Regions from separate parts of the Homo sapiens genome. Here region 2 is linked to region 1. The links are contacts of gene promoters, found by promoter capture Hi-C in human tissues and cell types (Jung and others, 2019). All regions are on one chromosome and are shown on one strand. Each heading gives the region's core, a stretch centred on a gene start or on the middle of the fragment in contact. The rest is flanking DNA. Distances are from core to core; before and after follow the strand shown. Region 1 holds the start of B4GALNT3 (beta-1,4-N-acetyl-galactosaminyltransferase 3). Region 2 overlaps NINJ2 (ninjurin 2).

Region 1 (5,489 bases), core at 2,347-4,846:
AACCACATCCTGGTCATCACACCTACACGGCCTGGCACAATGCCTGGCTCGAGGTATGCGCTAAGTAAATATTTGTGTAAATGAATGCGTGAACAGTCCTAATTCTTTTGTCAATTTTCTATTTGTTAAGGATTTTGGTTGTTTTTCTCTGAAGCCACTCCAGTTGTGGTTGTATCTCCTTCTGCATATGGAACCAAATTGCACATCATCCACATCTTAAACTACTGGGTTATTTCACGAAGATAAAGAAGGAAATATGCTCCCCTGTCATTACTGGTAACCCTGGAGTTTGTGACTGCCATCTCTCCATACTCTTCTTCCAGCACCAGATCCAACACAGGGACAGGCAAATGAAAGGTTCCTGGTAATGGGGGCTGGCCTTCCAGATGACAGGGAGCTGGTGGGTGGTGGAGTGAGTTGGCAGGGATTGCTAGAGAGGGGAGGCAGGGTGGCTTGCTGGAAAGCAGAGCCAACAAGCTGGTTCTGGTTGCTGTGGTTGAGGCCAGAGGTACAGGCCTGGGAGGTGCAGTTTTACTACCCTGGTTCCTGTTGGTATCCAAGAGTGTGGAGGTGGGAATGCTAGCAACCCCCTTCCCACCTCTCCTTTCCTAATGCCTCCTCCCTGGCTCTCCCTCCAGAGGAATAGCTCTGAGCTGAGAATGAAACCTATAGGAAAAGAGGGAACTTTGATGCAAGATGTCTGGGCTTCTTAACAACAAAAAAGGATGGGAGACAAGGAGGCAGAAACCACAGCTCCAGTCTAAATCTTATTCCACAGGGAAATCGAGAGTAGAATATAACGGGACAGCGCAGGACAAAAAGACACCCTGCACAATAGATGAATTTCAGGGTTCTAAGAGGAGAGAGGAAACAAGGTGCATCAGTGTGTGAGCTTAGCCTCCTGTTAAAAACCATGAGTAAGGAAACGAAGTCAATTCTGGCATAGAGGCTGGGAAGAGTTTTCTGGATAATTGGTTTGGAAAAGAAAATAAAAAATAAGGAAACCCAGTCAGAGAGTTAAGATTCTTCTGGGAGGGGAACCCAACAGACTCAAGAATTGATGGCTCGGAATGAGGCGGCCCACGGGAGACAGAGGCAGAGGTCGAGGGCCAGAGTGTCAGATTATGACTGTGGCAAACTAGATCCAGGTTTGGGGAGAAAACACACCGGAGGTAAAAGAAAAGTGAGGAGAGGGAGAAAGGGAGGTTACTGATTCCAAGGTCACAAAGCAACTGCCTTTCTCTCTGTTTTTAATTTGTGCACAAGATCCCACTGGCTAAACAAAATGATGGCTACACTGGGAGGAGGTGTCGCCTCCCAGGCCCCCACCCACACACACTCCAAAGGAGCTCATCCATTTGGGCCTGAGTGGCCATGGCGGGGGAGAATAGATTCACTCTCTGTCTTTCAGAAGGAAGAACAAGGCCCAGAGGAGGGAAGAATTCACTATGGGCGGCAGATTTTGGTCATCAGAGGAAGGGGCTCTGCTGCTTGGAGTCGTGGCCCCGGGGTGGAAGCTATGGCTTCCTGGTGATGTGCTGAGCTCTCTGGCCCTGGAAACGCTTGCGTGCAGATCAGTCTTCGTATCCAGACTGAAAGACACCTTGGAGATCATTTGGACCAAAGGCCTCATTTTCACCTGAGAAGCTGTCGTTTTTCCCTTGATTCCCCCGCTAGTTAGTGGCAGAGCCAGTCTCCTCTAACTCACAGCCGGAATGATTTCCATCACCACAGAAAGGTTAGGCCATAAATATACATTTCCAACCTGAACCAGCTCAGCGACTGTCCCTAGTAATTCTCTCTCTTTGGCCACAAGAGAAGGCACAGCACCACACCCAACTCTGGGTAGAGAAGCTGACACGACGACAGGTCAGAGTCAGAGTATCTTCTCAGCTGCTTGCTCAGCCACTCTGTCCGAGTTTCCCCAAAGCGGGAGGAAAGTGAAGGCATGGGAGGCCACGTGCCAGAACTTTGAACCTCGGCTCCCCGGGCTTGCGTTGGGCACCTGGTAGTAACGGGAGTTTCTCCATTTCTTTTCCCAACTATTACAGGATCTTTTACGGCCCCTGTCACTGTCAGTTTTACTTTGTTAGGCCCATCCACAGTACGTTGAAAACCACCTCGCACAGCCATACCTATTGATGTAAAAAGGCAAAGAGACCACGCTCTCCTGTTTTCCTAGGAGGAAACTGAGGCACGGAAATATTAAGTGGCTTTGGCTAAGTTAAAAACAGAAGTAGGAATCTACCTGCTGCCCGGTCCACTGTGCTGTCCATCATCTCCTTAAACTGGGGAGTTTGGTAGATTTGCTCAGGGTTCAGAAAAGTGGCAGAAGGGGCGGCCCGAACAGGAGAAAGAGGGCGCAGCGAGGAGGTGGGAGATTCAAAGAGCCGAGGACGGAGGCTGGGAGAGGAGCGACGTATGGGAAGCGGGGAAGAGACGGGACTCTCCGAGGTATGGTAAAAAAGAACCCCCCTAGAAGATGCAGCAGGAGAGGAAACGGAGTGAGCCAAACAGAAGGCGGTGGGCAAAGTTTGGGCTGCGCGGACTGGAGCGCGCGCCTGGGTGTGGACGGCCGAGGGCATCCCGCACCCGAATCCCTAGCTCGCGCGTGGACCCCACGGACCTCCTCCCCGGGAACCGCAAGCCCGGAGCGGCTGGAGGGGCCCGGTCTCCGCCAGCGTCTCGGCGGGACGGGCGGGGAGCCTCTCTCCGGGTCGCTCTCCGAGGGGAGACGCGAGGAGCCCCCAGGGTGCCCCGGACCCACGTGGCCGGCGGGCAGGCCCGGGCTCGGGAATTCTGCGCTCGGCCCCGCGGCTTCCCCCGCCCGCAGCTCTCCCCGAGTACGCGCGGGGCGACGCCGGGCACCTGAGGGAGAAATGGGTGGGAAATCGGGTCTGAGGATGGGATGAGAGGCGGGTCCCCCCAACGCAGGAGCCGCCGCCGCCGCCCACCCCCGCGCCCTTCGCCTCCCCTGGGTGCTACTTACTCCGGTTCAGGGGGTTCCCGCCGACCTGGGCCGACGCCACCAGTTCCAGATACAGAGTCCAGAGCCCCACAGACACCACGGCGAGCGCCAGCAGCAGCCGGAAGCGCCTCCGCAGCAGCTTCACCGGGCGCAGGAGCAGCGGGGGCCGCGCGGCCCGGGGGCTCCCCATGGCGCTGCGCCGAGGCGGCCGCCGCCAGCGCGGGCTCCAACCCCCCGAGCCGCCGCCCCCCGGCCGGGCCCCGCGCCCAGGGCGCCCCGCGTCCCGGCCCAGCGTCTCAGGGCTGCGCCGAGGCCGTCTCTCCCGGCCGCTCTCCGGCGGGGCTCGGGCTCATGCTCCGGGCGCGAGGGGTCTCCGGGCTGCGCGGGCGCCCAGCAGGTCTCTCCGGGAGCCGAGCCCGGCTCCTCCTCCGCGCGTGTGTTCCGCGCCGGGCTCTCCTCCCCACGCCTCTCCCGTCGCAGGCTCGCTGCCGCCCTCCCTCCCTGCGCGCCCGCCCTCACTCGCTGCCCAGAAGGAGGCTTCCCCGGCGCCCGCCCGCCTGCCTCCGCCCGCGCCCCCGCCAGCCCCGGACCGGGCTCCGGGCTCTGGGCTCTCCTGCTCGCGGAACCTGGCCCGCCCCCGGCCCCGCCCCCGCCCCCGCCCCGGGCACAGGTGGGCTCCGCCCCCGAGAAGCCAGGGACGCGAAGAGGCCATTCGGCTTCCCTAGGGGAGCGAGAGGTGGGGCCAGAGAACTGGTGCCTGGTGCCTCCCCCGACTGGGAACGGGTGGGATGAGGAGGGGGCGAGTGATGATGCGGACTCTGGGTGACCGAGGGAAACCGAGTCACCACCCAGGCGCCTAACGGTGTGGTTTTAGGCAGAAGCGAAGTAGAGGCTGGTTTGGGCGACGCCCAAGGCTTTAGCCTCAGAGCCTTTCGTCGCCAACAGCAACGACCCGACTCCCTGCTTGACGAAACCAGTAGGCGTGAAATATCACGGGAGCCACTGGACGCTTAACGCAGACATAGCTTCGTTTTCCAGTTGAGATTTGAAGACCTTTCTTCCCAGCCTGAACCACATCTCCGAGAGGCGCTGGGGAAGTCGTACAGCCCCCACGGTGAACCCCAGCAAGCAGTTTTCCCCAGACTGGGCTGGAATGGCTGTTTGAAGAGAGTAGGTGTTTGAGGGTTCCGAAAAAGAATTTTAAAAAGAAAAGAAAAGTATTCACTCTTAGAGTTGAAAAGATCAGCAAGATAAGCCAGGCACAGTGGCTCACGGCTGTCGTCCCAGCACTTTGAGAGGCTGAGGCAAGAGGATCTCTTGATCTCTGGAGGTCAAGGCTGCAGTGAGCCGTGATTGCGTCAGTGCACTCCAGCCTGGGCAACACAGCAAGACCCTGTCTCAAAAAAAAAAAAATCAGTATTCCAGTCCTCTGCCTTCAGGCAGGTAAAGCATTATTATCTGATTTAAATTAGATAAAGTATCAAGGGGCAGAATAACTGCCCCAGGTCACTCAGCAAGTTATACTGCAGTTTTCTTTTCCATTATCTCTTCTGGGAAAAATGGTCAGGAGACTATGGGAAAAGTGAAGGATCAAAGTGTTCCTGGACATTTTAAAATCAAATGAATATCACACAAGTACTGTTCCAAGACAGAGGTTCTCACAGAATTGAGAACTATGTTTCCCTTCTCTCTGTTCTCACCTCAGTTGGATATTCAATAGTTTCTACAGGACTTTTCCTAATTAGCCTCCCCAACTCCAAGCTTCCCATCGCATCCTGTCCACTACCACCAGATGGTCTTCATAAAAAGCCAGGCATGGTGACACACACCTGTAGTCCTAACTTACTCGGGAGGCTGAGGTGGGAGGAGTGTAAGGTTGTAGTGAGCCACAATCATGCCACTGCACTCCAGCCTGGGTGACAGAGCAAGACCTTGTCTCAAAAAAAAAAAAAAAAAAAAAAAAATCCCGTATGTAGTCACACACCTGCTCAAAAATATTTAATGGCTTCCAATGCTTATTGATTAAGATACACACTGTAAATCCAGAATTCAGGGCCTTCCAGAACCTTTTCCAACTTTATGTGACCACATGAAACCTGCTCCAGCTAAAACGAGTTTATTCACTACCCTCCAACACATTTTCTTTTCTAGTTGGTCAACTTGTACCCTTTATCCAAGGTCCATTTCAGATTCTATAAAGCTTTCTTGGACCAGCCAAGTCCTAAGCAACTCCTTCCTTTCTGGAGCTTTAGTAGAACTTGCCATCTGTCTCACCATCTGATATGTTGGAACTTACTTGGAGTGTGTGAGTCTTGTTTTCCCAACCTCACTGTAAGGCTTCAAAAATGGGAGCTGCATTTCCAGTGGGTGGTACAATGTCCACTTAGCACTTAGGAAGGTTTGAGGATGGGGGTAGCACTTTGAGCAAACATCTTCCAGAACTTTCACTGCAGTTCTTTAGCAAAAAGGGTGAATCCAAAGGACAATTCTCTAATTGTAGCCCCTGGGAAAGGTCTCTGTG
Region 2 (5,067 bases), core at 1,358-3,857, 140 kb before region 1:
CCAAAATCGATACAGACAGAAAGTAGATTAGTAGTTGCCTAGGCTGGGGCTGGGGATAAGGAAGGGATGGGCACTGGGTTTCTTTTGGGGATGATGAAAATGTTCTAGAATGGATTGTGATGATGTTTGCACAACTCTGTAAATACTAAAAGCCACTGAACCGTACACTTTAAATAGGTGAATTGTGTGGTGTGTGGATTATGGCTCAGTCTGCAGTTCTCCAGTGTCATCCCCATTGAGTGTGGAAGCCTCCAGCGTACCTTATGCATGGGGTTCCTCAGTCATCACCACACGGGACATTGCGTCTGAAGTGACACAGCTGTTCTTAATTGAATAGTTATTTAATTAAGGGATTGCTACTGGCTTCATCTGGGGATGTCAGTACCTTAAAATGGTGTGTATCAAGTCAGACAGATAATAAACTGGGTCAGACTCTACTCTCTTATTCCCATGGAAATCATTTTATTTTATTTATTTATTTTTTTGACACAGAGTCGCACTCTATCGCTCAGGCTGATCTTGGCTCACTGCCACCTTGGCATGATCTTGGTTCACTGCAACCTCCGCCTCCCAGGTTCAAGTGATTCTCCTGCCTCAGCCTCCCGAGTAGCTGGGATTACAGGCACCCGCCACCACACCCAGATAATTTTTTTGTATTTTTAGTAGAGATGGGGTTTTGCCATGTTGGCCAGGCTGGTCTCAAACTCCTGACCTGAGGTGAACCACCTGCCTTGGCCTCCCAAAGTGCTGGGATTACAGGCGTGAGCCACCGCACCTGGCTATTTGTTTTATTTATTTATTTTTTTTTTTTTTTGAGACGGAGTCTTGCTTCTGTGGCCCAGGCTGGAGTGCAGTGGCCTGATCTTGGCTCACTGTAAGCTCCGCCTCCCAGGTTCACACCATTCTCCTGCCTCAGCCTCCCCTGTAGCTGGGACTACAGGCGCCCGCCACCACGCCTGGCTAATTTTTTTTGTATTTTTAGTAGAGACGGGGTTTCACTGTGTTAGCCAGGATGGTCTCGATCTCCTGACTTCCTGATCCGCCCGCCTCAGCCTCCCAAAGTGCTGGGATTACAGGCGTGAGCCACTGCGCCCGGCCTGTTTTATTTTTTTAAAGTTAATTTTTAAAAAGATATATTTTTAAATTCATAGTAAATAATACAAAAAGCAGCTACCTAGTTACATGCATTCTAAATGAGGATGCAAACCCAGTTCATGCATTTATTCCACAAATTCTGAGCATTCACAATGCTCTGCCAGTTCTGCAAATGCAGGAGAGAGCAAATCACAGGGAGGTGAGAACTAAATAGTAAGTCTTCTGGTCAAGGTGGACCTGTTTTCAAAGGACAGAGATCTCCCTACCAAAGGAATTGGGAGTGTTTTAACTATTGAGAGTTCAGATAGATTTCTACATATCTTGTTTTCACCCTTTGAAAACTCAAGATTGATTTTTTTAAATTACATAAATACTAGAACAACCCTAACAAATAGAAAAAAAGAAACTTACAACAATTCTGGGCCAGGCATGGTGGCTCATGCTTGTAATCCCAGCACTTTTGGAGGCCGAGGTGGGAGGATTGCCTGAGCTCGGGAGGTCAAGGTTGCCGTGAGCTATGATGACACCATGCACTCCAGCCTGGGCAGCAGAGGGAGACTGTCTCAAAACACACACACACACACACACACACACACACACACACACACACACACCCCAAAAAAATTCTGCCACCCGCCTTGCCATCCGTCTAATTTCAAACTGTTTCTCCACTCCACCCTTTTTAATTTAATTTTATTATTTATTTATTTTTTGAGATGGAGTCTCCCTCTGTTGCCAGGCTGGAGTGCAGTGGCTCGATCTCAGCTCACTGCAACCTCCGCCTCCCAGGTTCAAGTGATTCTCCCGCCTCAGCCTCCTGAGTAGCTGGGACTACAGGTGTGCATCACCCATGCCCGGCTAACTTTTTTTGTATTTTAGTAGAGATGGGGTTTCACCATGTTGCACAGGCTGGTCTCTAACTCCTGAGCTCAGGCATTCTGCCACCTCGGCCTCCCAAAGTGTTAGGATTACAGGCCTAAGCCACCGCACCTGGCCCCCACCCATTTTGTAAAGCCTCTAGCTCCATTTCCCTCGTTATCTTGACCACCTTTTCCCCTCATAGCCTTGACCACCTTCATTGCATGTCTCCCAGAAGGACTCAGCTGCAAGGACCTCCCAAGATCACTGAGAAATTCAGCCCCGAGGAATTGAAGCTTGGAAGTAGCCAAGACCCCCCAGTGGCTCAGGCGTTCGGAAGGAGTAAAGGAGTAAATGTGAATCTCAGCGCCAATTTGCTTCTGGGCACATTCCTCAGACTCAGAAACCAGGCAGGGGAGGGCTGAGTATCGGGGCCCTGGCAGCTGGGCAGAAGGAGGCGGGCTGGGCCAGAGCTGCTCAAACCTTGGCATCAGAGGTATCCTGAGTGCACGGCTACTCCTGTGCCCGAGACGGGCAATGGGACACTGGCACCATGGTGAATCAGTGGCGGCATCTCGGGGAGGAATGTGAGCCCCCCGGGCGTGCTGGGGTGCAGGTCCAACCAAGCTGAGGAGGAGAGGCAGTAGGCCAAGCGCAGTCGTGGGGCTGGGAGGGCCTCCGCACTTCCAGACTTGCTGGGACTGAGTGGTCCTAATCTCCCAACTCTACTGAGGCAAGTCAGGGTTCAAATTCCAATGAAGCCACGAACATGGGTGGCATCCTGATAAGTCTCTTAACCTCTCTGAGTTGTTTTCTCACCAGTAAATGGGGGGATAATACCCCCTTGTAGGATGTTGCAGAGATCATGTTGTGAGGTCTTACACGCTGCTCAACGTGTGATGGCTTGTGCTGTAGCTAGGACACTCACCCTTTTCTTGGGGGCTATGACCCCCTCAAATGTCTAAGATTTAGCTTCGTCATTCTCATTTCTTATCCACTGACAAATTAACTGGGGCGGGGGGAGGAATACTTTTTTTGAGATGAAGTCTCTGTCTTGTAGTGCGACGGCGCAATCTCGGCTCACTGCAACCTCCGCCTCCCGCGTTCAAGAAATTCTCCTGCCTCAGCCCCGCAAGTAGCTGGGATTACAGGCGCCTGCCACCACACCTGGCTAGTTTTTTGGTATTTTTAGTAGAGACAAGGTTTCTCCATGTTGGCCAAGCTGGTCTCGAACTCCTGACCTCAGGTGATCCATCCGCCTCGGCCTCCCAAAGTGCTGGGATTACAGCCATGATCCACCTCACCCGGCCTGGAATACTTTCCAAATTTGTGCTTTATTTATTTCAATATTTCTCTCTTTTTCGGCTGGTACAAGAAATACATCCTTGTAACAAAAATACAAGCATTGTAGGCTGGGCGCAGTGACTCACGCCTGTAATCCCAGCACTTTGGGAGGCCGAGGCAGGTGGATCACTTGAGCCCAGGAGTTCGAGACCAGCCTGGCCAACATGGTGAAACCCCGTCCTTACCAAAAATATGAAAACTAGCCGGGTGTGGTGGTGCACATCTGTGGTCCCAGGTACTTGGGAAGCTGAGGTGGGAGGATCGCTAGAGCCCAGGAAGTCGGGGCTCCAGTGAGCCGTGATTGTGCCACTGAACTGCAGCCTGGATGACAAAGAAAGATCCTGTCTCAAAAAAAAAGTTAAAATTAAAATATTGTAGAAAATAATATTAAACAGGATTAAAATTTTCCTTAATTCTATCGGCCAAAGATAATTGCTGTTAACAGTTTGGTGTCTATTAGGTGGACCTCAAATGACTCTAATTAGATTGAATTGATGACCATGTTTTAAATGTCTCCCCCCCTTTCTCCTCATTTCTCACAGCCCAAGCTGAGTCACGGGTGAGCTCCTTCGAAAGTGGCCTATGGCCAGGTCCACAGCACTCACACCTTAGACATAGCCCTGTCTGGTAAGATGGGCAAGCTCGGGCAGCCCTCTCCAGTCCTCTCTGGAATTCACTGCCAGTTTCCTCCCTCTGGGCAGAGGGAGGGCAAGGAGGAGGGTGGGGGCGGAATGGAGCTGTGGACACAGCTACCTGCTGAACGTAGATCCGCACTTACCCCCTCGGTGCCCAGGGGGAGGTCAGTGAAAACACCTGTGAAGCAGCCAAGTATGGAAACATCCTTGCGCATACCAGAAACAGGGTGTTGGCAAAGTGCTGTCTGTACATATCTATACACAGACACACACGCATACACACACATTATACACGATTGTGTGAGTGAGCAGTTCTTCCCTTTCCCACCCGTTAACAAGCTCATTTCCTTACAGGAAACTTATCTGCAGATGCTTGTGTTTATATACGAGAGACCAAGCTTTCTCCGCAGGGGACCTCCTACCTACATAAATTAGCCCAGAGCTACAAAGAAAAATCTTACTAGTGATAATAAATGTTCCTTTAAACCAGAAGGGTCCAGCATTATACTAGAGGGCTTCAACAAGGCAAAGGCCTCTGGGCCCTCTGGCCTGTAATAGCCCAGCATTCCCCAAAAGCAACAATGCCCCAGACCCTCCACACCTTCAGTGCAGAGTTGGCTGCACTGCCGAGGTGCAGGCTCCTGCGACACTTCTTGGTGTTCATTGTTAATGGTAACTCCCACTAATACATTCGCCTCTTCTTCAGCTTCTGAGATTCTATCTCCTCCATGAAATGTTCTTGGCCAATGGCAAGAGAAGTGGAAATTTCACTTGGCCCTACTTTGCCTCAAGACGCAATGTCTTCGAGACTTCTTCAATTCATCATATACAAGGAACAGCTCCTTGGTTTTATGTAACATGAATAATATGTGCTGCCCTTACTCTTTGATTTGTCTGACCTATTTTCACTTGTTTGTTCCTTATAATCTTTAAGTCTGTCCATGTCAGACTATGTTCTCCTGTGTCACCATGTTCTTAGTACAACCCTTAGTATCCTGGGTAAACAGTGGAAATCTCAAAAGCCCATCTGTAAGAAAACGTATAATAATAGCAACACTGAGATTTATTGAGTGCCGCACACTCTTACAAGTACTTTACACGCAGTAACCCAGGTAGTGCTCATAGCAACCCTGTC

The links. The method cuts DNA at HindIII sites, captures the fragments that hold promoters and counts their contacts. A contact is called where the count stands out against the background at its distance.
Region 2: a fragment that was not itself captured here is called in contact with the fragment with the promoter of B4GALNT3 in region 1 in 2 of the 25 tissues and cell types used here (mesenchymal stem cells and thymus).

Annotation. Positions count from the first base shown.
Region 1 is chr12:458,046-463,534 of GRCh38, reverse strand. B4GALNT3 (beta-1,4-N-acetyl-galactosaminyltransferase 3) reads right to left here and starts at 3,596. Exons shown (of 20, transcript NM_173593.4): 1 at 2,990-3,596. The coding sequence starts at 3,158. RefSeq lists an enhancer at 3,445-4,428. The HindIII fragment of the contact is 8,839 bases long and covers 1-4,949 here.
Region 2 is chr12:597,296-602,362 of GRCh38, reverse strand. All of the region lies in intron 1 of NINJ2 (ninjurin 2), which reads left to right. Among named protein-coding and RNA genes, the nearest start is that of NINJ2-AS1, 31 kb to the left of the region's middle. The HindIII fragment of the contact is 6,301 bases long and covers 1-5,067 here.